Regions from separate parts of the Homo sapiens genome. Here all the other regions are linked to region 3. Evidence: promoter capture Hi-C in 16 types of primary human blood cells and fetal thymus (Javierre and others, 2016). All regions are on one chromosome and are shown on one strand. The core of a region is centred on a gene start or on the middle of the fragment in contact, and the rest is flanking DNA. Distances in the headings are between cores, read along the strand shown. Region 1 has its middle 390 kb from the start of DELEC1. Region 2 overlaps WHRN (whirlin). Region 3 holds the start of TNFSF8 (TNF superfamily member 8).

Region 1 (4,775 bases), core at 245-2,744, 600 kb after region 3:
ATGCCATAATATAAACCAGGCTTATGAGACAGGTAGATTCTGATCACAACACCTTATATATATTTGGCAGACATATTTACATCATGCATCTCAGCCAATACTCATAACTTCCCTCTCTTAAATAGGTATCAGGTAGTTCATTTTATAGGTGAAGAATGAGGTCTGCACAATTAGTACCTCCTGGGATTTTTGCACAAACAAAAAGCTTCTCTGCTTGGATAACTCTTCTGTGGTGTGCTTTAAAGCTAAGCTTGTTTGTTCTACTATATTCAAAGGCTACTTCCTCTACCTGAGGCAGAGTTTGCTGTTTCTCTCTTTGTGCTCCTGTTGCATGGGATAACTTTATCTACCATTGTAGCTTTTACTTGTCATTTATTGTTCCTTTTATTAAAAGCCTATTTCTTGACAACCTCCTGGCTGTCAGAAATTTTGCTCAGGCTTTAGGAATGTAGTGAGTAGCAAAACAGATAAAACTTTCTGACCCAACAGAGCAAAGATGTCATGAGACATAGACGTTAATCAAATAGCCATAAATACACTCTATATGAAATAAACAGGCAGCTGGAATTGAGAGAGCGAAAGGTAGCTTGAGATTAGACTGAGTTTTTTAAGCAAGGGCAACATTATCCATAATTGTCCTACTAAGGATTTCAGGTTTTTATCCTAAGAATAATAGGAATCTTCAAAATAGTTTAAACAGAAGAGTGACTTGATCAGAATTTAATTTTAAAATACTACTGTCTTTCTTTTATAGAGAATACAGCTATTTTCCACACTACTTAAAGACACAGACCATGTTCAGTATTCCTGTAGCATCTAGCAAAATAGTTGGCATATAGTTGGCACCTAGGATTGTTGTTAAAATAGTAAATGAAATACAGCAATAGCTGAGATTTATATATATTTATAAATTATGTAATAATTTTTATTTATAAATCATGTAATAATTTTTATTATACTTTAAGTTTTAGGGTACATGTACACATTGTGCAGGTTAGTTACATATGTATACATGTGCCATGTTGGTGCGCTGCACCCACTAACTCGTCATCTAGCATTAGGTATATCTCCCAATGCTATCCTCCCCCCTCCCCCCACCCCACAACAGTCCCCAGAGTGTGATATTCCCCTTCCTGTGTCCATGGATCTCATTGTTCAATTCCCACCTATGAGTGAGAATATGCGGTGTTTGGTTTTTTGTTCTTGCGATAGTTTACTGAGAATGATGATTTCCAATTTCATCCATGTCCCTACAAAGGACATGAACTCATCATTTTTTATGGCTGCATAGTATTCCATGGTGTATATGTGCCACATTTTCTTAATCCAGTCTATCATTGTTGGACATTTGGGTTGGTTCCAAGTCTTTGCTATTGTGAATAATGCCACAATAAACATACGTGTGCATGTGTCTTTATAGCAGCATGATTTATAGTCCTTTGGGTATAGACCCAGTAATGGGATGGCTGGGTCAAATGGTATTTCTAGTTCTAGATCCCTGAGGAATCGCCACACTGACTTCCACAATGGTTGAACTAGTTTACAGTCCCACCAACAGTGTAAAAGTGTTCCTATTTCTCCACATCCTCTCCAGCACCTGTTGTTTCCTGACTTTTTAATGATTGCCATTCTAACTGGTGTGAGATGGTATCTCATTGTGGTTTTGATTTGCATTTCTCTGATGGCCAGTGATGATGAACATTTTTTCATGTGTTTTTTGGCTGCATAAATGTCTTCTTTTGAGAAGTGTGTGTTCATGTCCTTCGCCCACTTTTTGATGGAACCAAAAAAGAGCCCGCATCACCAAGTCAATCCTAAGCCAAAAGAACAAAGCTGGAGGCATCACACTACCTGACTTCAAACTATACCACAAGGCTACAGTAACCAAAACAGCATGGTACTGGTACCAAAACAGAGATATAGAACAATGGAACAGAACAGAGCCTTCAGAAATAACGCCGCATATCTACAACTATCTGATCTTTGACAAACCTGAGAAAAACAAGCAATGGGGAAAGGATTCCCTATTTAATAAATGGTGCTGGGAAAACTGGCTAGCCATATGGAGAAAGCTGAAACTGGATCCCTTCCTTACACCTTATACAAAAATCAATTCAAGATGGATTAAAGACTTAAACGTTAGACCTTAAACCATAAAAACCCTAGAAGAAAACCTAGGCATTACCATTCAGGACATAGGCATGGGCAAGGACTTCATGTCCAAAACACCAAAAGCAATGGCAAAAAGACAAAATTGACAAATGGGATCTAATTAAACTAAAGAGCTTCTGCACAGCAAAAGAAACTACCATCAGAGTGAACAGGCAACCTACAAAATGGGAGAAAATTTTCGCAACCTACTCATCTGACAAAGGGCTAATATCCAGAATCTACAATGAACTCAGACAAATTTACAAGTAATAATTTTTATATATAAATTATGTAATCATTTATATATAAATCATGTAATCATTTTTATATATAAATTATGTAATAATTTATCATCTTGTCAGTGATCTACTCAAGTAGCCACTGTTATGCCAGTTGAGAGTTGAGAAGACTAAAATCCTGAAGGATGGTGTTAATTGGTAGAGTTGGCAGGTGGTGAAGCCAGAATTCAAACTTGGCCTATGAGATTCCATCGTGGCTGCATTCTTTCCACAGAAGTATGCCCTGACCCATGCTACGTTTTGTGGCCTCTTATGGAGTCTGTGCAACAAGGTAGATTCTGAGAGAATAAAAGCTTTTGCCAATTACCCCTTCTCCCCCAGTTTCTTAGGCATTGGAGATCATTCTCATCTAATACCTCTATGACATCAGAAACATCCTAACTGTTCAGTCATCTCTCCATCTTCCTGTTGCATCACCTTCAAGCTCCAGTTGATACAGTAGGCCCCCTGTATAGCTGTGTAACTTGGGATAAGTTTCAAGATTCCCAGTAGATGCCTGAAAACACAGATAGTACTGAACCCTATATACACTGTATTTTTTTCATATGCATACATACCCATGATAGAGTTTAAATTATAAATTAAGCACGGTAAAATTTTTACAATAACTAATACTGAAGTAAAACAATTATAAAAAATACCGTCCCCTATTTCATGGATAGAAGATTTGCTCTCACCCTAGATCTTAGCAATGTCAGCATACCATTTTTATTTTCTCATTAGGTAGAGAACTTTCACCTTTTCACTTAAAGAAAGCACTTTTGTGTGGCTTCTCTCTGGTATATCTGAATTGCCAGCATCACTACTCTTGCCCTTTGGGATTATTATTAAGTAAAATAAGGGTTACTTGAACATAAGCACTGTGATACTGCAATAGTCCATCTGATAACCAAGATGGCTGCTAAGTGACTAACAGGTGGGTAGTATAGATGGCATGGAGACACTGGACAAAGGGACAATTCATGTGTCAGGCTGGGTGGAGCAGGACTATGTCAGATTTCTTCACATTACAGAGGATGGCATAAAATTTAAAGCATATGAATTGTCAATTTCTGGAATTTTTCATTTGATATTATGAGACCACGGATGACCATGGGTAACTGAAATCATGGATAAGGTGGTAAGGGGAATACTGTACTCTTCTTCCCAGCATCAATTTCAACACCAGCTTACAGTGCCTCACCATCGTTCAATGTCTCTGGATCCCAATCAATGTGGGTCAAACCAGTTGCTCTTCATTTTTCTTTAGCTAGCTATCAGAAACACATAGTCCAGTGTCCTAGAAGGCTGCTCCCAACTTCTACAGCAAATCTATTCTACAGAGTTTTGAACTCAAGGTCTTCTATGGTGTTTTATAGCTCATGTATCAATATTTGCTTTGACTCCCAGTAAGAGAAACCCTTAAACAAGTGTCATAAATAAATCATGAATTTTCTTACTCATATACAATAAGAAATGTGGAGGCAAGTAATCCAGGGCTTCCATGGCTATTTCAAGATGCCAGTGGAGACTCAGGCTCTTCCTGTTATTTTCACTGAGCCTTTCTTTAGCATGTGTTTCCACCAAAATGGCAGATCCACTTCCAGCATCATAGTCATGATCTAAACCAAAAAAAGAGGGAAGGGCAAGGCATAAAAGGTACATGCTGGCTGAGTGGACCCCCTTTTAAAGACCTTTCTCTGAAGCCTTACAAATAGCTCTGACTATGTCTGATTGGCTAGCCCAGTCATATGGCCACTCCCAGCTGACGTTTTTAGTTGGGCTATTAATATTACTATTAATGTTACCAAAGCAGTCATTTACTAAATGCCAAGATGCTCTCCATCTTATCTCACTTATTTCTCAGAACAGCCCCTTGAAGAATACATTATGAATTGGAGGTATAGAGTGGGTTTTCTGCTTTCTGGAGCTACAAGTAGAATTGGATCTTGACTACTCCAGTGCTTTCTCAACCACTATGGCCTTTTTTTCTCCCTCTGAGATGATCTTTCATGAAAAACCACATTATCATTTGGTGTCAGCATTTTAATTTTACTATAATTAAATAGTTGTTTTTCTGTGAAATTACATGGTACCCACAAGGCTGAGAATTAAGGAAAGCAGAAATAACCTAAAGGGTATGAAGAGGCTTCGTAGAAGCTACACACTGGAGATGGGTAGGCTTTTAAAAATTCCTACCCTAACCTCTATTCCAGTGGTTCTTAATTGTAACCAATCATCAGAATCATCTGAGAAGGTTTAGAAAATATATATATTTCTGAATCTCAACTGAAGAGTCTCTACTTCAGGATACTTAGCATGGAAACCACTGCTCTATTTTTTAGA
Region 2 (4,815 bases), core at 1,994-4,493, 520 kb before region 3:
GTTGGGATCTTGGCGGGTGTCTCTGGGGACAGCATCATTACCTTTGGGAACTGAAGTTCTTGGCATCAGCCAGAGCTTGTCACAGGGAACAAGACTTCATTAGAGACACGATGAAGAGGATGGAAATACAAAAAATGCATTTATTTGGCTTTTCTTTTTAGGGGGTGATCTTGAGTACTAGAGGCAAGAGGTATGAAAGGACTGGAGAGAGAATGGACAGGAGGAGATGGATACATGGGCTGGGGTGCTATGTGGCCCCAGGCAAGGCACAACACCTCTCTGAGTGCACCTCTGGGCAATGGGGAAAAGCACATCTACCCAGCAGAGGTGGTGTGGTGATGTCAAAAGCCACGTGAATACTGTTAGCACAGTGCCTGCGCCACAGCAGGTGCACAGTGAGGGGCAGCTATGGACACTGTGACTACCACTCCCCTCTGCCTAGGTCAACACCGGACACCTGCACAGCTCCAACAACCTTCCAGTCACCATCCTAAAGGCTTTACTTAATTAATTTACTCCATGCCACGAACTTATGGGGTAGGTATGCTATGATCATCATCCCCACTTTACCGACGGGGAAACTGAGGCACAGAGAGGCTAAGAAACTTGGTCATACTGTGGCCAGCCAGCCTGAAGGCCCCGCCTGAAGTCACCAGAGGCAAGTGATCCTGGTGCCTGCTAGAGATACTAGAATGGTGAGCTTGTGCACAGACCTGTAGCTGGGTGTGAGAGCTCATGGCAGAGGCCTCTGTCTCCTTTGCCACCCTGTGCCCTTTCTCCGTGGCTGTCATGGAGAGGAGAGAGCCACCAGGACCTGAGCACACCAGGGAGAGCAGAACCAAAGGGCCAGCCAGGGCCTTACCACGGACACATCTGGGAGGGCGTTGATATTGCCCTGGACAGCCTCGCCAGTTTCCTCCAGGTCCAGAGTGTTCTAGAAATGGACGAGAAAGCAAAGTGAGCAAACAGAAGCTGAGAAGGGAACACTGGTTTGTTCTCCAGCACACCAAAATTGAGGAAGTCTTAGGACACCTCCATGTGGTTCATGTGAGCCCTGACATACCTCACTTCATCGAAATTCACTTTACCCATTAAAATGAAGGTCAATTTGCCTGCTGGTCACTTTGAAGTTAAGTTTTCTTTGGGACTTTCTGATCATTTTCAGGCATCCCCTGAACTGCCAGAGATGCTGGGGCATCTCTAGCCTGGGCTGGGAATTCCTGGGTTTGGCCACGAGCGCTGTGCTCCACAGTCATGCCTCCAAAAGCCAAGGCCTCTCTCCACCACTTGCTGATGAATCCCAGGAAGGTGTGAAAATGGCAAGAGAGAAGTGGATGGGGAAAGTCTCTCCCTTTTTAAAATTCTAATGGTTTTAATCCCAAGGTGGTGGTTTAAGGTTTAAATGGACCTTATTTTGCAAAAAACGTCTATTTCTTTCTTCCCTTCCCAATTCACAAGAAGAAACCCAATGCCTCCTTAAGTGACACTGGGCTGCCAAAAGGCCATTTGTGGGCCGTCTATGGGGGGCCCATCGGAGCTCCTCTCTGAGCTGGGCTCTCTTGAGGGCTAAGGGAGCCAGTTCTCTCGGCCCTAGAGCCCAGAATGGAAAAGAGCTTCCACCACTGTGATGATTAGCTTCGCGTGTCAACTTGACTGGGCTAAGGGATGCTGAGATAGCTGGTAAAACATTATTTCTGGGTGTGTCTGTGAGGGTGTTTCCAGGAGAGATCAGCATATGAATGGGTGGACTGGGCAAAACTCACCCTCCCCAATGTGGGTGGGCCTCATCCAATCCACTAAGGGCCTGAACAGAACAGAAAGGCAGAGGAAGGGCAAATTTGCGCGCTCTTCTAGAGCTGAGACATCCATCTCCTCCTCCCTCAGACACCGGAGCTCATGGTTATTGGGCCTTTGGACTTGGACTAAAACAAAACCACCAGCTTCCCTGGGCCTCCGACTTGCAGATGGCAGATCAGGGGACTTCTCAACCTCCATCATTGCGTGGGCCAATCCCACACAATATAGTATAACTGATTGCTTCTCTTTCTCTGGAGAACCCTGCTGGCTACATCAACACTTGGCTGAGGTCTCAACTGCAGTGCTCATCAGTACTGAGCAGTCTCTGAAGCTCCAGGCTGATAAGGGGCTGGGGACACAGAGGTGGGACACCAACCCTGCCATTGGTAGCTCAGAGACAATGGGGTCAGTCGACAAGCAAACAAGCAACAGGGAGACTGCAGAGAGAGCATCCAATGGGCAAACACAGGCATATAATGCAATCGGGGGAGGGGTTACCACGGAAGGCTTCCTGGAGGACGGGGCACAACTCAAAGCTAGGTCTTATGAGTGAGCAGAGCAAAGAAGGGAACGATAGGTGTTTCAGACAGAGGAAAGGGTGTAAAGCAGGAATGGAGATAGGATGTTTGAGAACCCCCGAGCAGCTCCACAGAAGTCAAGCATGGAGCTCTTGCACTTAAGCCTGAGGGCAGTGGGTTGCCATGGAGATGTGGTCAAGTTTGCCTTCTACGAAGATCCCCTTTGCTCACATCCTCTCCAGCCAGGCTGGAACACCACGGATGTGTCAGCCTTCACACTGGCTGTTGTCTCTGTCTGCGACTCTTCTGCTTGGCTATCCATCCACAAGGCATGCTGTCGCTCACCTCCAAAACCTAACCCACCTGTCACCTGCTCGACAAGGTGTACCCTCACCACCTCAGCTAAAATCGTAACCTTCCCCTCACCCCACTCCACCTTGCTTTATTTTTCTCCTTCTCATTGATCACCATCTCCACCCAGCAGCTAGGGAGTCATGCCAGAAACACATGTCAGGTCTCTCTGCAGCTCAGGACCCCCAAGGGCCTCTTCATCTCAGTTGGAGGAAGTTCCAAACCCTACTCATTGTGCCTACATGACCGGGCCCTTTCCTGCTACTCCAACATCACGAGCTCATTACTGCCCCAGGGCCTTTGCACCTGCCGCTCTCACTCTGCACCACACTGTGGTTCATTCCTTCACTTTGTTTAGTTCAGACCTCAGCGAGGCCCTCCCAGAGAAGCCCTGTCTAAAACAGTACTGCCCCACCCCCATCCCTGTCTATCCCGTTCCTGCTTTGGTTTTCTGTGTAACACCTATCACCATCTGACTTTATACTCTTTGCATACTGTCTGTCTCTCTCAATAGGATATAAACTCTGAGAAGGCAGGACATGCAACTACTCGGTCCTCACTCTCTCCTCACTTTTCAGAACAGTGGCTGCTGGATAAATGTTTATGAAGCAAACTGATGAATCCATGAATGAATGGCAGGATGGATGAATGAATGAATCAATCACTCTAGCCATCATTGGAGGAGGCCAGAGCAGGCAGGGAGTTGAGGGGGGTGGTGCTGCAGGTCACTGCAGTGAGCAGTAATGAATGTCTGAGTGTGAAGGCAGCAGGTGGGGACAGAAGGCACTCCTGACGCCATACCCCTAAGACAGAGAGAGGCCAGTCATGCCACACATATCCCCATCTCGACCCACAAGATGCTGGCTCGGGCCTTCCGGGTCAGAGCCCTGCAAACCCAGAGCTCCTCATCTGGTCCCATGATGCTTCAGGGGCATAGTCAGGCAGGGGCAACTGCCCCCATTTCCCCACAAAGTTGAGGTTTACATGCAAACCTTGGTCCTGACCTGTTAACTGCACACTGCCTCACAGGAATCTGCTGCTGACAGCCCCTGTGATGCAAGCGCGGTATGTGGTGGTTGGGGGGATTCTTTCAAAAGGGCGAGGGTGATTGGGCTGCTCTCTCACTCACTGATTAGTGACACTGGTTCTGGCTCTGCCAACTCTGAGGCTTCTTTGAGCTCACACCCAGTTCTGCCGCTTGCAGCTGAGTGATGGTAGGTAAATCCTTCCTCTGTAAAATAGGTTAACAGCAATACCTGCCTTAGGCAGTGGACATGTTAACACTTACAAAGCACTCAGAATAGGGCCTGGCACAATGTACGAGGAAGGTGACTGTTACGTGCATTGGGAGACTGGGAGGCCTTGCAATCTGCCCCAGCAAGAGAATGAACCGCGAGACGTGTCCTGGCCCATATGACAACTAGGATGGAAAGGAATGGCAGCCCTCTCACACCACCTCCCTCCTCCAAGACCATAATGAGTCCAATGCTCCCTGGAAGTAGTCCAGCCAGGCGCGTTAAGGTGAACAGTGAGGCAGTGATTGACATGCATTCACTTCCTCAGGCTCAACATTCATAGTCCTGGTGTCAGCAGGAGGCACAGAGAGGGGTCAGAGCCTCAGAGGTATCTACAGCAAAGACAAGGGGAGCCTCTGCCACATTCAGGTGGAGCCACTGCCCCCTGCCCCAGGAATTCAACCTGCAGCTGATCCTGGGGGAAGCTGGGGTTGGACTCAGATGACAGTACATGGTAGGACCAATGCCGTGGGATCCTGCCCTGCTCTGGCGCATCAGGGGCTTTGCACATTCAGCTGTGCAGGAAGCTCTTATCAGGCAGCCATGACTTTCCAGGGAAGCTCAGGGAGGGTGTGACTTTTTCCCAGAAAGGGTATTAGAGAACTACAAAGGACCTACTGTGCGCCAGGCCCCGTGCTGGGTGTTTTACTTATATTATCTCATTTGATCCTCCCAATGACCCTGTGAGGCAGGCACTAGGACTGTCCCTTGTCACATCGATTACACCTGAAGTTCAGAGAGGGAAGAGACTTGTCCAAGGTCATCTGACCGTTCTACAGAAGGTAAGGTTTCTAACCCAGGTCTGGGTCACCCCAACGCCCATACTACACTGTCCCAACCCCAGAAATGAACAG
Region 3 (4,606 bases), core at 357-2,856:
TAGGCACTATGAAGTAAGAAACAGAAATATTCTCACTTTGGCAGGTCATGTGGGTGGGTGCAGCTCTTAAATTACCCATTAACAACTTCATCAAAAAATTCATGAGCAATATATGCTATTACTACAGCATTTTCTATATAATATATACTGGTAGATTCTCTGTAAACACCAATTTTCTAAAATATGAAGAAGCTTCCTCTTTCTCCTCCTCTTCTGTTTTCAGAAACAAATCTTACCATTTACTTCAAAGTAAATCTCCGAAGACAGTCTGACCCTGTACAGTGTGTACCCAACGATTGCTTAGTATTGTGAGGAACATCAGAGAGAACAGGTGCTAAAAACCTTTCAACTTTCTGCTTCTATGTGCTGTTTCTTTTTTTTTTTTTTTTGTGACGCCCTAACTTCTTCAAAGTTGTGGCTTAAGAGGAAGCTTTCGATTTGTCTTGCTGGCTTTAACACCAAAATGTCCAAAGCTCTAAGAAGCCATGGTCTTCTCTTTCGCCTCCTTTCCTTCTAGACCTTGGCCTCTGAAACTTAGCTCCTTGTATAAAACAAAAGCAAAAACAAAACTCTTGGCAATGGGTGAGGCCTCAGAAACCTCCAGGACACTCAGACTTAGGATATAGAACCTCAGAATCCAGTCTGAAGTCCTTGAAGACATGATAACAACTTGTGCAAATGTGTTATCAGGTTTCTCTATTGCTTCCTTCCTTGATATGGGTCTCTGGCTCATTAAGATTTAAATCTTAACTTTAAAAGGCCAATAGCTCCCCTCCACTGTTTTGCTCAGACAGATCTGCAAAGTTTTAAGATGATGGTCTAACAATATTTTTCTCAACAAGCCAAATTATTTTAGAGAGTTAAGTTCCTCTTTCTTTTCTCCCTTTCTCATATATATATATATATATAATATATACTGTATAATATAATATATATTATGTAACATAAGTGTATTACGTTATACAGTATATACTATAGTATATATATATATATAGAGAGAGAGAGTTTATTTATTTAATTTTATTTTGTGCTCTTAACCAACAAACGAATATCATTTGTTCCCAGGGCTCTTTCTCTCGGGAAAACAACAAGAAAAGGAAAGGGAGGAAGAGGAGTCCACTTACCGTCCTCTGAACGACCAACACCATAATAGTGGCCACCGTGAAGACAAGGCACAGAGCCAGAGTGGCTGTGGTCAAATAGAAATAGCTGCGGCTCGTGGTCCCCAGGTGGCTGGCCACGGAGCCCGCCGGCACATGCATGGCTGTGTCTCCAGGAGGGGCCATTCCGTTGAGTGCTTGCTGCAGCCCTGGGTCCATTCTTTATATAGTCTTCCCCACATCACACCTTATCTCTCTTCATCTGATTCAGTTCTGGGCCCATCTCTGTTCCAAGAAGGATTCTCCCCCTGAATCCTGAATCATGTGACTTGGAAAAAAACCTTCACCTGCTGCCTGGTGGAGAAACTCTTCTCTGGGGGCGTGAGGCGAGAGGCGGCAGCAAGGGTGGGGGAGAGGTTCATTTTTCATTGCCAGGGATTAAGTTGTGTGCAGAGAAACTAGCTACAGAGAAGGTGGCTGATGTCAGAGGGCGCGTAGGAAAATGACGGTTCCCCGACTGTGTGTGTGTATGTGTGTGTGTGTGTGTGTGTGTGTGCATGCGTGCGCACACACAAAGCAACTTCTGTTTCGTTTAGACTCTGCCACAAAACGCCTTCCTGTTCAAGAAGCTGCACCTTCTTTCAGCGAGGCCTGTGGCTCAGAAGACCTCCCCAGATAATGAGTCCTTGCTGGGTCTCAGGGAGGCCGGATCCCTCGGACTGCAGTGTAATAACTCCAAAGGGTTCGGTTTGATAGGCTACTGCTGAAAAAGGGACATGCTGCAGGTTCCCTGGGGGAAAAAGGGCACACAAATGGAGATATTTCTCCAAAGGGGGACTGGCTCATGGCAGTATGAAATTTGGGGTTCAAAGATACTGTCAGAAAGCAGGAATCTGGAAATATCAATCTTTTGAACAAACACTCCTGCAGAAGTTTTGGGATCTGTTAAACTGGCAGATGAACCTGGACCTGCCGTAAAACTCATGAAGAGGGGAAGGAATTGGCAGTGAGATGGTGTGGTGTGGAATATGGGGGCTGTGTGTGTTCTGCGTGGTGTACTATGTAGTGTGTGTGTATTTGTGGTATGGGGGTATGTGTAGGTGTTGTGTGTTCTCTATGGTATATGTATGCAGTGTGTGTGTGGTGTGCATTTGTGATCTGCAATGCATGCCGAGTGTGGTGCGTATGTAAGTGTTGTGTGTGGTGTGTATGTATGTGTTGTGTGTGGTGTGTTGTGTCTTGTGTATGTATGTGTTGTGTGTGTATGTGACTACTATAATTGAACCTCTACTGTCTCAGGCACAGCGCTAGGAGTTACATGTGGCTTCATTCCACTTCCACCTCCACCCTCCGAGGCAGGCAATGTTTATTTTTTACAGATGGGAAAACTGAGGCTCAGGGAGGATGAAAACTATCTCAACCTAAGTCGCAAGTGTCGATCACTGAAAGAACTTGGGTGCACTTTGCAGCCTGCCTGGCTGAAAGCTCGTGCTAAGTCATTCAATCTTCACTGCACCTGAAAGCTAAAACCTGAAGTGTGGTCTCAGCCCTTTCCCTTCTTAGCCTTGGGCCATCATACAAGTCTTTATGGCTTTCTCTGTTCCCAATCTGCATTACAGTCATCAGGAAGACCAAGCGAGATGATGTCAGAGTACTCCATGAATAAAAATAGATTTGGGGATGGTGTTGGACAATTCCTGTTAAACATCCCAAGCTGTCTACTGGGCTAAGTCTGGAATTTAGATACAATAGACAGATTACCTGGGGGACAGAGTCAGATCACATCTGTGGTTACTAATGATCTCCATTTCAAAATACCGTTTAAAATGTTAATCACTGCATAGCTGCTGCCTCCAGATGTGGGCCTTTGAAAGCTCCATTTGGTATCACCGTGGAAGAAGCTCATTCTGCATAGCACCTCCTTTCCTTTCTGCTCACTTTTTGTCTGCAGCGCATCACTTTGAGCCAGCAGAGATCCCAGATGCCCCTAAGGAAACGTCCTGTGTCTAAAGCCAAGCTTGGATTATTACCACTGCTGTTCTTGCATAGAACCAAAACTTCTGAGCATCTCCCAAATTAGATCAGGCTTTAGGATTTGGTCTGGATATTTCCTCCCAGTGAGTCTGTAAAAGCATAGATCCTGGAGACGAAAGAGACATCAAGAGATAAATTGTTTTCTTGGGCTAAATAGAGTGGGGGGCGATATACCCATTTTACAATCAAGGAAACCGAGGCCCCCGTGATCCCAATTGAGTTTGGTTTTGAAAACAGTGTGTTCACGTTCGTTTGGTCCGGTAATTAAGGTGGGAACGAGGCAAGCCAGTGTTTTCTGGGGCATGTACCTGGCTGATTTGGGGAGAAGGCTGTGTCCTCTGGTGGGCACGGACAGTGAGTGGGTAGCAAGGGCTCTGTGGTCTGCCCAGAGTTGCTGAGAACCAGCTGCTCCCTTGGCCCTCTTGTTCAGCCTCTTTGATCAAAGTGGAAAACTTCTGATTGTTGAATGGAAGCTGTGGGTGTTGAAAAATAAAAAGGCTTTGCTTGAAGTTCGGGTCTTCCTGAAGGCCTGTGGGGCTGAGAAGGGCAGTGGAAAAAAATGTTTGTCTTACAGTTACCCGTTTTGCATACAATACAATGTCCTGGGAGGGAAGGCTGACAAGGGGGAAAAATCACCCTTTGTTTTTACTCAACTTTCTGAGCAGTTGAGATTTTCGGATCAGTTCCTAGTACAGTAGTTTGTGGGCTCAATTCATTCTTTTGCTGTGACACTCCTCTACTCACAAACCTTCAGTGGCTCCCTATTTCCCACCCCCATTGCTCTAAGCCCCTCTCTGCTTTCCAGCTGTTCTAGAATCTAGCCTGGCCAACATAGAAATCCATGACCTGTGCTAACTGGCTTCTTTCTGTCTTCTACTCAAGCTGTACGATGTGCAGATGGAAGGAGCCTTTATAGAATTTCTTGTTGAGTAAGTTTTAAATCCTTTCTGGAAGCAAAGCTGTATAAGGAATATAAAAACATAAGAAAACAGGGCTGCTTTGGCTGAAGCACAGGTGGGACAAAGAGAAGGGCTAAGCTTCACCTGCTCATTTGCCCTTTTCTGGCATGGGGTCTCTCCAAGGTGAATAAAATTTAGAAACTTCAGAAAATTTGGCTTGAATCCTTCATTCCACAAAAGGAGGAAACTGGGACACAGAAATGGGAACAACTAAAGGAAGTACATACCATCAGGGAGAGAGACAGGTGTAAGAGTCCCTTCTGCTCATTCTCTCTCCTTTTTTTTTTTTTTTTTTTTTTTTGACTGAGTCTCGCCCTGTCACCCAGGTTGGAGTGTAATGGCGCAATCTCGGCTCACTGCAACCTCTGCCTCCTAGGTTCAAGTGATTCTCCTGCCTCAGCCTCCTGAGTTGCTGGGATTACAGGCACACACCCCTAGGCCTGGCTATTTTTTTTTTTTTTTAATCTTTTGTAGAGATAGGGTTTCACCATGTTGGCCAGGCTGGTCTTGAAC

What was found. Contacts are between HindIII fragments. The CHiCAGO score rates a contact against its expected background, and 5 or more counts as called.
Region 1: a contact is called between a fragment that was not itself captured here and the fragment with the promoter of TNFSF8 in region 3, in 2 of 17 cell types (M1 macrophages and M0 macrophages). The highest score is 9.2, in M1 macrophages.
Region 2: a contact is called between a fragment that was not itself captured here and the fragment with the promoter of TNFSF8 in region 3, in 14 of 17 cell types (non-activated CD4 T cells, neutrophils, naive CD4 T cells and 11 more). The highest score is 13.7, in non-activated CD4 T cells.

The regions. Positions count from the first base shown.
Region 1 is chr9:115,526,441-115,531,215 of GRCh38, forward strand. No RefSeq gene overlaps it. Among named protein-coding and RNA genes, the nearest start is that of DELEC1, 390 kb to the left of the region's middle. The HindIII fragment of the contact is 2,493 bases long and covers 249-2,741 here.
Region 2 is chr9:114,407,085-114,411,899 of GRCh38, forward strand. It overlaps WHRN (whirlin), which reads right to left. Exons shown (of 12, transcript NM_015404.4): 8 at 863-934. Among named protein-coding and RNA genes, the nearest start is that of AKNA, 22 kb to the left of the region's middle. RefSeq lists a silencer at 2,504-2,553. The HindIII fragment of the contact is 6,945 bases long and covers 1-4,815 here.
Region 3 is chr9:114,928,985-114,933,590 of GRCh38, forward strand. It overlaps TNFSF8 (TNF superfamily member 8), which reads right to left and starts at 1,607. Exons shown (of 4, transcript NM_001244.4): 1 at 1,125-1,607. The coding sequence starts at 1,319. RefSeq lists an enhancer at 701-1,260. The HindIII fragment of the contact is 2,687 bases long and covers 429-3,115 here.